3 separate regions of the Homo sapiens genome follow, and all the other regions are linked to region 3. The links are contacts of gene promoters, found by promoter capture Hi-C in blood cells and fetal thymus (Javierre and others, 2016). All regions are on one chromosome and are shown on one strand. The core of a region is centred on a gene start or on the middle of the fragment in contact, and the rest is flanking DNA. Distances in the headings are between cores, read along the strand shown. Region 1 has its middle 3.4 kb from the start of PTTG1IP. Region 2 overlaps UBE2G2 (ubiquitin conjugating enzyme E2 G2). Region 3 holds the start of TSPEAR-AS1 (TSPEAR antisense RNA 1).

Region 1 (3,409 bases), core at 374-2,873, 370 kb after region 3:
CTTAAGCAAAATTTGTAATCCTTAAAACTGGCCAGGCTCTGGAGCTGAGTTCAATTTGACATGTCTAAACTTTCTTCTTGAGTAACCAGATTTTCCCTTACAGTCTTTTGTCACTTAAGAGAACTCATAGGCAATCGTCCATCCAAAACAAGTCTTTCTCCTTCAGGGAGGACCCATCTTTGGAAACTCCAGCTGGTTTCCTGTGCAGTGCTTATGGTGCCACCTCTCGTTATATTTAGAAAAATGGTCTCACGTAACTTGAGAAAAAACATTTCAGTGACCAAAGCCGGGTACCATTGGAACACCAAGGTAATTTACTTGTTTGCTCAATTGGAAAACGCTGGCTCTAGGATAAAACGGAATCTTTGGGAGAGTTATTTTTTATGGTAGTTGGAAGCATCCAAAAGAAGTTCTAATAAAGGTATTTATGAGAGAAAAACAAAAATTATCTAAAATAATTTCTGAATTTAAAAAAGACTACTGAAATTTCTCCCCCTCCTCCCTCAGCTCCTTCTCTTTATCCTTTGTTGTCTGAATTACCTCGCCCAGACCCACCTTTCTTCCTCCTCCTCCTCCTGTTTTGGGGCCATTGCTCAAACAGCCAGTGTCTCTCATAGGGGACAACTATGTGCCCTAGTTCATGAGTTATGGTCAAAGGTAGAACTTAAAAGTATAATCAAGGAATTTCCTGATGCTCACCAGGACCCCACTGGTTTTCCCAGAGAATTTAAATACCCGAGTGTGTGACCCTGCCTCTACTTTGGGAAAAATAATTTTTTTTTTTTTGAGACGGAGTCTCGCTCTGTTGCGCAGGCTGGAGTGCAATGGCTCAATCTTGGCTCACTGCAACCTCCGCCTCCCAGGTTCAAGCGACTCCTCTGCCTCAGCCTCCCGAGCAGCTGAGACCACAGGCACGCACCACCACGCCCGGCTAATTTTTGTATTTTTAGTAGAAATGGGGTTTCACCATATTGGCCAGGTTGGTCTTGAACTCCTGACCTTGTGATCCACCTGCCTCAGCCTCCCAAAGTGCTGGGATTACAGGCGTGAGCCACCACGCCTGGCCATAAAAATTATTTAAAATAGTTAACACGAGTTCCCATTGCTGACATAAGCTTTTGCTGATAGAGCAGCCGTGTTTTCTGTAATAAATCCCATCTTGTTACAAGGTTCCATTCCTTGGAGTCAAAAAAAAGTTCAAAGGGTAGGTGTCACTAATACGCCTGTAACGGCACGTAAATCTCAGCCTATAGCTTTTCAACTAGGTCCTTTACAAGGGACTCACATTTTCCTTCTGGTTCTATCAGCTGCCAGCCATCTTATAAAAGGAGACTTCTTAGAATTACAATATCCACGTTTCTTTCTCCCAAAGGGGGAAGACGTATTTAGAATTAGATGAGAAAGCTGAGTTACTAGACATAAAAAAAGTTTCAAAATCTAACCCAATTGCGATCCCTAATTGCCCTAGAAGACACTGAATTATTGAATAATGAAGAATTACAAAACCTACTAAAGGCAGTACTTGATCAAATATGGTCAGAGTCTTCCACTGATACTGGAAGAATCCTCTTGGCTACCCCGATCAAAGTCCTTTAGTGTAGTGGACTTATTAGCACATCCTTCAGTAGTTCTGTGTGTGAAAGTGTTGATTTCTCTTTACCTTTACTTGGGAAGGCAGACAATACACACAGACAGCCATGCTCAGGGCTACACTGAGAGTCCAACTGATGCAAAGACAGTTGTCTTACATACTGACTTGTTCTTTTTTTTTTTTTTTTGACGGAGTTTCGCTCTTGTTGTCCAGGCTGGAGTGCAATGGCGCTACCTCGGCTCACTGCAACCTCTGCCTCCCGGGTTCAAGCAATTCTCCCACCTCAGTCTCCCGAGTAGCTGAGATTACAGGCATGCGCCACCATGCCTGGCTAATTTCGTATTTTTAGTAGAGATGGAGTTTCTCCATGTTGGTCAGGCTGGTCTCAAACTCTGAACCCCAGGTGATCCGCCCACTGCAACCTCCCAGAGTGTTGGAATTACAGGCGCGAGGCACTGGGCCCAGTCTTTTGACTTGTTCTTAAAAAAAATTTTTTATTACAATACATGGGCAGTTTACTCCTTTGCTCAGAAGATAAGCAAAGCTTTTATAGAAGATGGGATACATTCATTACAACAGCCCTAAAGGGACATAAAATTCCTAAAGAAAAACCTCAATTTTATAAAAAACAAAGTACTTGGGCCACTTAATATCTAAAGAAAGACTTTCTACTAATCTAGATAGACTGAAAGGAATTTTAGCTTTCCACCACCAACAACCAAGAAACAAAAGGATGTGGAGGACTGGCAGGATATTATAGAAATTGGATCCCAAACTTTTCTTTAAAGCTCAGTCCTTATACGCTCTCTAAAAACAGGACATGCCAGGACTTTAGAGTGGTCAGAAGAAAATACACCAACATTTGAAATGATCAAACGTGACCTTGCTAATGCTCCGCCTTTGGGGCATACAAATTATAACCTTCCATTCTATTATTTGTATAATACATGAAAGTGGTGGAGATGCTTTAGGGGTTCCTAAAACACTGTTATATGTAAAAATTGTTATTTAGAAACAGAATGCTTGTTCCCAAGTGCTGCAAAGACACAGCACTCGAACATAAATTTAATTCTCTCAGCAAGGCCATTTTTACTTTCTGCAGAAGGGGTGCTCATCACAGATGGAACAATGGCGAGAGCACACCTGAACAAAGGAGGGAAGCCATTTTCATCCCTGCCGCTGTTTGGCCCTGCTACTGTGTCCTGTCTCCATTGGCTGGAGCCAGACCTCACAATCTAAACTAAAACCCGATTGGCTAACAGTTTAAAACTTTTCTAAATAGGTAAAAGTAATGGAAAGACAAAGGAAAAGAGGAAGTTGCTTAATACCAAATAGGGAAGGGGCATAGGCTGCGAGCTGGAATGTGCCTGTGGGCAGGTCCAGCACAAATATCCTGGTTAAGGTTCAAGGACATAGAATGTACTACGTGCCCGTGAGCAAGTGTAACAGCTACACAGGCTAGAGCTTAACGAGCAGTTATTAGCACGAAGCCAGGAGGCTTGAAGGAAGTTAGTTTTTAAAAGAAACTATTATTTTTAACACTTATGATTTACTCTTTAACAAGAAGGGAAACTTTGAAGAGGAACTTTTTGCTTTCTACAAACACAAAGATCGAAACAGACAATCATTGCCACAGTTCCCTAAAATATAATCCAGGAAAACCATTATAAGGACATTTCCCTTTACCCGAGGCCCTTGTGAGTTATGACCATTAGATGCCATGCTGTTGCCACCCTCAGAAACATACAAACATGTTCTGATAACAATTTACTTGTTTTCTCACTGGGCAGAGGCATTTCCATGCAGAAGAGCACTGCC
Region 2 (3,392 bases), core at 815-3,314, 270 kb after region 3:
GCTTCACTCCCTACAGATGGTCCATCCAACCACCACCTCTGCAAGGTGCTGCCCAGAACTTCCTGATGTGACTTTGCATTTTGTTTGTGTGATTCTCCTATCAATGTCCATCCCTGTCCTTGGAATATAAGCTCCTGAAGGTCTGCTATTATTTGCTCACCACTGTATACCAGCAACTTTCAGTACGTGTGTTGAATTGTTTTTAAAGTATTTATTGACTAGTTTTTATGATATTGGTAGACCTATAGTTCTCAAAGATAATTTTTAAAAAATCAAAATAATCCAATTACAGTAAGGCAAAAATTTATATTATCTGAGCATTAAAAATAATTACCAGAACATTAAAAATAATAATCAGACCACCTGTAGTACATAGTCACATAAGGTAATCAGTTTATTGGTCATATTTGTCACTAATGCCATGTCACAGGTATTGTTCTGAATAATATATTTCTCCTCAATACAATCTTAGTATTTTAATTACCTACAATCCTCTTCATAGTTGCATTTTATAGCTAACCAATTTGAAACTACTTCAATTACTCTTACCTATCAATTGTATTTTTTAACTTTTTATTATGGAGAATTCCAAAAACACACTCAAGTAGACAGCGTGTGATGAACCTCCATGTTATCATCTAACTCAGGCGCATGGCCAGTCTCCCTGAAAGAAGGCACGCTTCTGAGCATCCCCTGTGCACACAAGACTGAAGCAGCTTTGAGATAAGAAAAGAAGTACCAAATGGTCTCTCTCAGGCAGCCGCCCACTACCTATGTGTACCAATATCTGCAGTAAATGAGAAGTCCTAAACGAGGGTTAGGACAGCAAGTCTATTGGCAGACGGCATTTCCACCAGTGAAGTGGCCGGGGGTGGGGGGGTAGTCCTGAAAACCCCTATGGCAAAGATGTAAAAGGAAGAATGTAAAAGGAAAAAATAAAAACTACAGCTGTTCAGAAATTCCAATTCCTACTACTGGACACATTTTCAAATAAGCTACAGTACAATTCACTTAAATGACCTTATTTTTTTCCTCCTTTTAAAATTAATATATATTAATTTTAGGGCAAAAAAAGATTTACAAAAAGGAAAAAAAATTTCAATCTGAAAAAAGAATCACTTTTAACATTTTTGTGCTTACTTTTCCAGTTATATATACATTTACATGTGAATTTCTTTTTCAAGAGGAAATTATAACAGTGCTACTGCTTTTCCCAGTCAATATAACACAAATACTACTTTGTATCATTGATTCTTCTTTTAGATCATTTAAAAAATCTACATCACATTCTAACATATATGATATAGTTTGGGTGTGTCCCCACCCAAATCTCATCTTGAATTGTAGCTCCCATAATTCCCACATGTCATGGGAGGGACCCAGTGGGAAGTACTGAATCATGGAGGCACATCTTTCCCGTGCTGTTCTCGTGATAGTGTACAAGTCTCACGAGATCTGATGGTTCCGTAAAGGGCAGTTCCCCTGCACACACTCTCTTGCCTGCCGCCACTAAGATGTGCCTTTGCTTCTCCTTTGCCTTCTGCCATGATTGTGAGGTCTCCCCAGCCATGTGGAACTGTGAGTCCATTAAATCTCTTTCCTTTATAAATTACCCAGACTTGAATATGTCTTTATTAGCAGCGTGACAACAGACTAATACAATATATAACTTAATTTATTCTTGTGTTAAAAACCCAGGTTAAGTCAAAATTTTCACCATTACAAATAACACTATGACAAAGATTAGCATAACCCCTTCTGAGCACACACCCATGTGTAAAACTTCCTCCCCAGTGAAGTAGGGTGGCTGGGTCAAATGGCATCCGGTTTTAGGTGCCTGTTGTCTTTTATCTATATTAAACTGACCTTCAAAATTGAAATCATGTGCTTAATACCACCATGCTTACTTGGCTGAATTTCAAAACATAAGAAGTGTTTTCTAAAGATCTACATCATAGACATATAGAATATACCACATTTCAGGTGGCTGATAATATTATCTCCGTACCTATCCTGGTACCACAAAAACTACTTCCAAAAGCACTTACTGTTGGGATGAAACATCTCACAGGTAAATCTCATCTTTGGGGGACTTAACGGGTAATCAAGTGGGAAACTCAGGATGGCAGGAAAAACACCAAACTCAAAGCAGGTGTCTTCTGGGCCCCTAGAAGATATAAAATACGTAGACTGAACTTCAAAGTACATTTTTCAACGTCGACCACAATTGACAAATGGGTTAAGAACATTTTTACCACTTTAAAAATGCACGTGAGGCCGGGTGCGGTGGCTCACGCCTGTAATCCCAGCACTTTGGAAGGCCGAGACAGGCAGATCATCTGAGGTCAGGAGTTCAAGACCAGCCTGGGCAACATGGTGAAACCCTGTCTCTACTAAAAATACAAAAATTGGCTGGGTGTGGTGGCGCATGACTGTAATCCCAGCTACTTGGGAGGCTGAGGCAGGAGAATCGTCTGAGCCTGGGAGGTGGAGGTTGCAGTGAGCCAAGATCTCGCCACCGCACTCAAGCCTGGGCGACAGAGCGTGACTCCGTCTCAAAAAATAAACAAAAATAAAAATAAATAATAAAAATGCACACAAAAAGATTATCTAAGTAACAATGAATTGGTACTTTCTTTTCAGTGGAAAGCAATGTCCCATTCTCCAGTTTCAATCTGGTCTAAATCTTAGGTACAAGTACAAAGACTGAATTCCAGGCAGTTTTCACATTTATGAAGGTTAAGAGTCAAGCAGCAGAACCTCTTGATAAGAAGGAGATCAGAGAAAAGAACTAATGTCAATGCTCTAAGATCTGGGAGTTTTTTCTGCAGATGTGGTACAATCACATTTTAGGATAAGGGTATGAATTACGGCACAGGGTATAGCAAGATTACATTGTATTTCAACAGATGTGGGGCTAAGAGTTGTATTTCAAAGGTGATTTTTAATTTTTAAACGTGCCCAAGAAGGCATCTTTGCAACCTTCAAGAAGCAGATGAAGAGCACATGTGATCACTGCTGCATGCTCGGTGAAAGGCTAGGCACACAGGCACCACCACTCCAGGCTGCACCTGCAGGCCCATGTGCTGTGCCTCATCCCACTGATGCAACATTGGAGCAACTCCCCGTCATGGGCACAGACACAGGCACTGAGTCTCCCTGGACCTATACTTTCCTCACGTGTAAATGGAAGAAATAGATGAAACCATTTCAGAAATCCTGCTTAAGGTTTAAAACCCAACAAGTATAAATTAACACTATCTTGACCAACAGTTCAAGGCATGATGGCCACAGGAGAGGAAGAGTGTCAGCCACTATGCCTGTACCTTCACACCAGGGACGAACTCCTCTTCTCCTACAAATCACATTAATAAAACACACATTGGAGGAGT
Region 3 (3,837 bases), core at 213-2,712:
GAGCCCACAGTGGGGAAGCAAGTCTCTTGGAGGAGGCCGGCCTCGGTGAGCCCACAGTGGGGAAGCAAGTCTCTTGGAGGAGGCCGGCCTCGGTGAGCCCACAGTGGGGAAGCAAGTCTCTTGGAGGAGGCCGGCCTCGGTGAGCCCACAGTGGGGAAGCAAGGCTCTGGGAGGAGGCCGGCCTCGGCAGCTCATTACCTGTAAATAATACTGTTCACCGAGAAGGTACGCCCATCGAAGGAGTTGGCCACCACCAGGAAATAATCTTCTCCCACCGAGAAAAACTCCCAGTCCAGAGCACTGCAGGAACAAGTGGGTGGATATTAGGACACAACAGACATCGCCAGGGAACTGGGGGATTGGCCAGAAGCTACCTCCAAAATTTATAGAGGAGGAGCCGGGGCCAAAGTGGGGAGTGATTTTCTCACAGTCACATATGTGTTGGTCTATTCCAGGAAAATGTAAATTAGTTGTTTGCTTAAAAAAAATTTCAAATTTTATTTTATTTTATTTTTGAGATGGAGTCTCATTCTGTCACCCAGGCTGGAGTGCAGTGGCGAGATCTCGGCTCACGGCAACCTCTGCCTCTCGGATTCAAGCGATTCTCCTGCCTCAGCCTCCCGAGTAGCTGGGATTACAAGTGTGCGGCACCACGCCCGGCTAATTTTTGTATTTGTAGTACAGACAGGGTTTCACCATGTTGTCCAGGCTGGTCTTGAACTCCTGACCTCAAGTGATCTGCCCACCTCAGCCTCCCAAAGTGCTGGGATTACAGGCATGAGCCACCATGCCTGGCCTCAAATTTTAAATTATGGTAAAATACATATAACATAACATTTCCCACCTCAACCATCTTTAGGTGCACAGATCAGGGGCATTAAGCACATTCATACTGCTGTGTGGCCGCCCCCACCATCCACCTCCAGAACGCCTTCATCCTGCAAAACCGAAGCTCTGCACCCAGTAAACATCACCCCCTCCCCCCTCCCCCCCCCCCCCCCCCCAGCCCCGGCACCCACCACGCCACTTTCTGTCTCTATGAATTTGACCACTCTAGGGACCTCATATGAATGGAATCGCACGGTATTTGTCCTTTGTGTCTGCCTTAGCTGAGACTCCAGTGACTCAAGGTTCATCCGTGTCGCACTGTGTGTCAGAATCGCCTTCCTTTCTAAGGCCGAGTAACGCTCCGCTGTGTGAATGGACACGTTGTGTTTGTCCATCCGCTGACAGACACTTGGGGAATTTCCTCCATGTGGCTACTGTGAATGCTGCTGCTATGAACACCGGGGTACAAAAGTCCACTTTTAAGAGGTTGAAACAATCAGAGAAAAAGTCTCAGGCTGCTGGTGCCTGCTGGAGGCAGGAGCTTGGTTTCCCGCTCTGGACACTGTGCAGAAATGGCGTCACAGTGCTGTGGCCTCTGTGCCTGGTTTCTTCTCTCAGCATTGTGTCTTCAGCTGTGAGGTCAGCGGCCGTGAGGTCACTCCAGGAGGTGCCTACAGGACCTGCAGGACCTGCTCGTTCACAGATGTTCTCCTAGAAGCAGAAGCTGTTTCTTGTTGCAAACAAATTTGCTGTGTCCTGTCTTAGGAGTCTCACCTGAATTTACCAAGGATGCATCTGTGCTTGGGGATGGCTCGGTTTGAGGGGTCTGAGGAGCGGCTCCCCTGGATCCTTTCCTCCCCAGGAGCCCACCTGCCGAGCTGTCAGCGTCAGCCCCACATCTCAAGATGAGGAAATGGAGGTCGAAGCCATGCACACGCAGGCGTCCTGCTGACATGCAGGCCAGGCGGGTGCCTCTGTATTCAGCAGCCTCAGGGCTGTGGCCAGTTCAGGCAGCAGAGGGGCCTCATCCCGGTGCTTCCCTGCAGGCAGTTGTGGGGCCGGCCTGCAGCAGGGGCTCAGACAGGGCCTTGGGAGAGGGAGGGATCACAGAGGTGTCCAGTGACAGGCAGGGCGGGCAGAGCCCATGGGGCCTTGGGCTCCTCACTCCTTCGGTCAGTCAGGGTGACATCTGGAGCCACCTCCATTAATGGTGGGTTATGATTTGGTTCCCATGCAGCCCGTGCCAGCTCGCTGGGAGGAGGACGAGGACGCCTGTGATCACATGCTCTGGTCTGGAGGCACGGCCGCGGGCCCCGGGTCAGTGTGAATCCGCGGGGTTACTCCTCAGTCGGATCTGAGCTCTGAAACCCAGACCCGAGGAAGACAAGCGGCCACGTCGGATGTACCAGTGGTGGAAGATCCTGTCCGGCTGCACCGAGGCTCACATCAGAAGCCGGCTTCGGTTTCACCACAAAATAAGGCATCTAGTGCCCGATTCTGCCTCCAAAGCAGCCCTGGGTCACACTCGCTGTAGGACAGATGTTATTCTTCAGAATCACGCCCTCTGGCAAATGCCCATCATCGGACAAATGGACGGATGAAGTGTGACTCAGCCATGAGAAGGGGGATGCTCTGAGCCGCGCGGCCACACCACCAACCCGGAGGACACGGTGCTGCGAGAAAAAGCCAGGTACAGAGGCCACGGCTCTACGAGTCCATTTCTGTGCAGTGTCCAGAACGGGAAATCACAGAGACAGGAAGTGGGCCCGGGGGTGCCCAGTTGGGAGGGAGGGGCTGGAAAAGGGTGTGGGGGGCTCCTTGTGAGGGGATGAGAATGTTCCAGAGTTGTCTGCAGCCATGGCTGCACATATCTGTGGATTTAATAGAACTACTGAATCTAAAAAGCAAACACAAGCGACCATTTGAAGGCAGTCAGAGCCAAGGTTACACACAGAAGCCACAAAACCCCTCAGCGCCCTTGAATAGGGTTTTGGACTTGGTGAGGCCACATCACGTCTCCGGGAAGTGTAGGGAATTCCCCATGCTGGGTAGAAGGGCTAGGAGTTTGACTTGTGTGTGCTGTTTTGATGGTAATTATTAAACATTACCTTAATTAATTGGTAAGTACTTTCTGTGTTTCATAATTTAGTTCATAAACTGTCCATACCACTGTCCAGTGGTGACAGGGCCATAAGTCGCGAGTGTGTAGCTGTGTTCTGTCAGTTCCCGCAGCTTTCAAATCCCGAGGCGTCTGCCTCATCTGTTTCTAGACTGGGCATCATGTCCATGACTAATTTTTAATCACAATTCATTCTCCAACTTGTCTTATTCTAAATGTTGTTCTAAAAAGCCTAATGTTTGTTTTGTTCTCGGCGTTGACATTGGATGGCGTGGATTCGTGCTGGGGACACACAACTGCCACCGCCGCCCCGTGCCTGTTTCTCCTGCCATGGCTGCCAGGCCACGCAGGGGCCACGGAGCCCACAGGCAGGTCACCCCGGAATCCCCAGTGCCCCCAGCAGACACCGCCGCTGGCTCTTTTTCTTTATTATGAGTGTTCTTTTTTTAATTTTTAAAAATCATATAAGTAAGATATTAGTAAGTTAACATTGTCATCCTTTGTAAAGCCAGGAGTTCAGAAGTAACAGGGCAAATAGGGAAAGTCCTTCCTGGCCTGTCTACATACCCCTGCAGCCCTCCCGGTCCTAGGGTGACTGCTGACGGAGAGGGCACTCCCTTCCCGAGTCTTCTCTGCACGTCCGTGGGCACGCACAGCTGAGCGGCACACAGCAGCCCGGCTCGCTCCTCCGCACTGGGGACACAAGATTTCACTGCACCTCACCCAGCCCTTTCCACAGAGCAGTTCATCTTGGAGACTCTTCCCCTCGAAGGGTCTAAAGGTATGTGTTGTTGTGTGTCTCAAGCTGAGATTAGAGCCCAGTGCCCAGGAGGGGCAGGTGAATTGTTACCGAATGAAATAGGAGTGCATGAAACCCGAGGAAACCTGGG

What was found. Contacts are between HindIII fragments. The CHiCAGO score rates a contact against its expected background, and 5 or more counts as called.
Region 1: a contact is called between a fragment that was not itself captured here and the fragment with the promoter of TSPEAR-AS1 in region 3, in 1 of 17 cell types (naive CD4 T cells). The highest score is 5.4, in naive CD4 T cells.
Region 2: a contact is called between a fragment that was not itself captured here and the fragment with the promoter of TSPEAR-AS1 in region 3, in 5 of 17 cell types (total CD8 T cells, naive CD8 T cells, naive CD4 T cells and 2 more). The highest score is 11.2, in total CD8 T cells.

The regions. Positions count from the first base shown.
Region 1 is chr21:44,875,363-44,878,771 of GRCh38, forward strand. No RefSeq gene overlaps it. Among named protein-coding and RNA genes, the nearest start is that of PTTG1IP, 3.4 kb to the left of the region's middle. The HindIII fragment of the contact is 1,020 bases long and covers 1,114-2,133 here.
Region 2 is chr21:44,775,251-44,778,642 of GRCh38, forward strand. It overlaps UBE2G2 (ubiquitin conjugating enzyme E2 G2), which reads right to left. Exons shown (of 6, transcript NM_003343.6): 4 at 2,049-2,167. Among named protein-coding and RNA genes, the nearest start is that of UBE2G2, 25 kb to the right of the region's middle. The HindIII fragment of the contact is 8,154 bases long and covers 1-3,392 here.
Region 3 is chr21:44,504,582-44,508,418 of GRCh38, forward strand. TSPEAR-AS1 (TSPEAR antisense RNA 1) reads left to right here and starts at 1,463. Exons shown (of 7, transcript NR_103707.1): 1 at 1,463-1,747; 2 at 2,066-2,518; 3 at 3,456-3,728. TSPEAR (thrombospondin type laminin G domain and EAR repeats) reads right to left here. Exons shown (of 12, transcript NM_144991.3): 11 at 199-300. RefSeq lists an enhancer at 3,806-3,837. The HindIII fragment of the contact is 6,455 bases long and covers 1-3,837 here.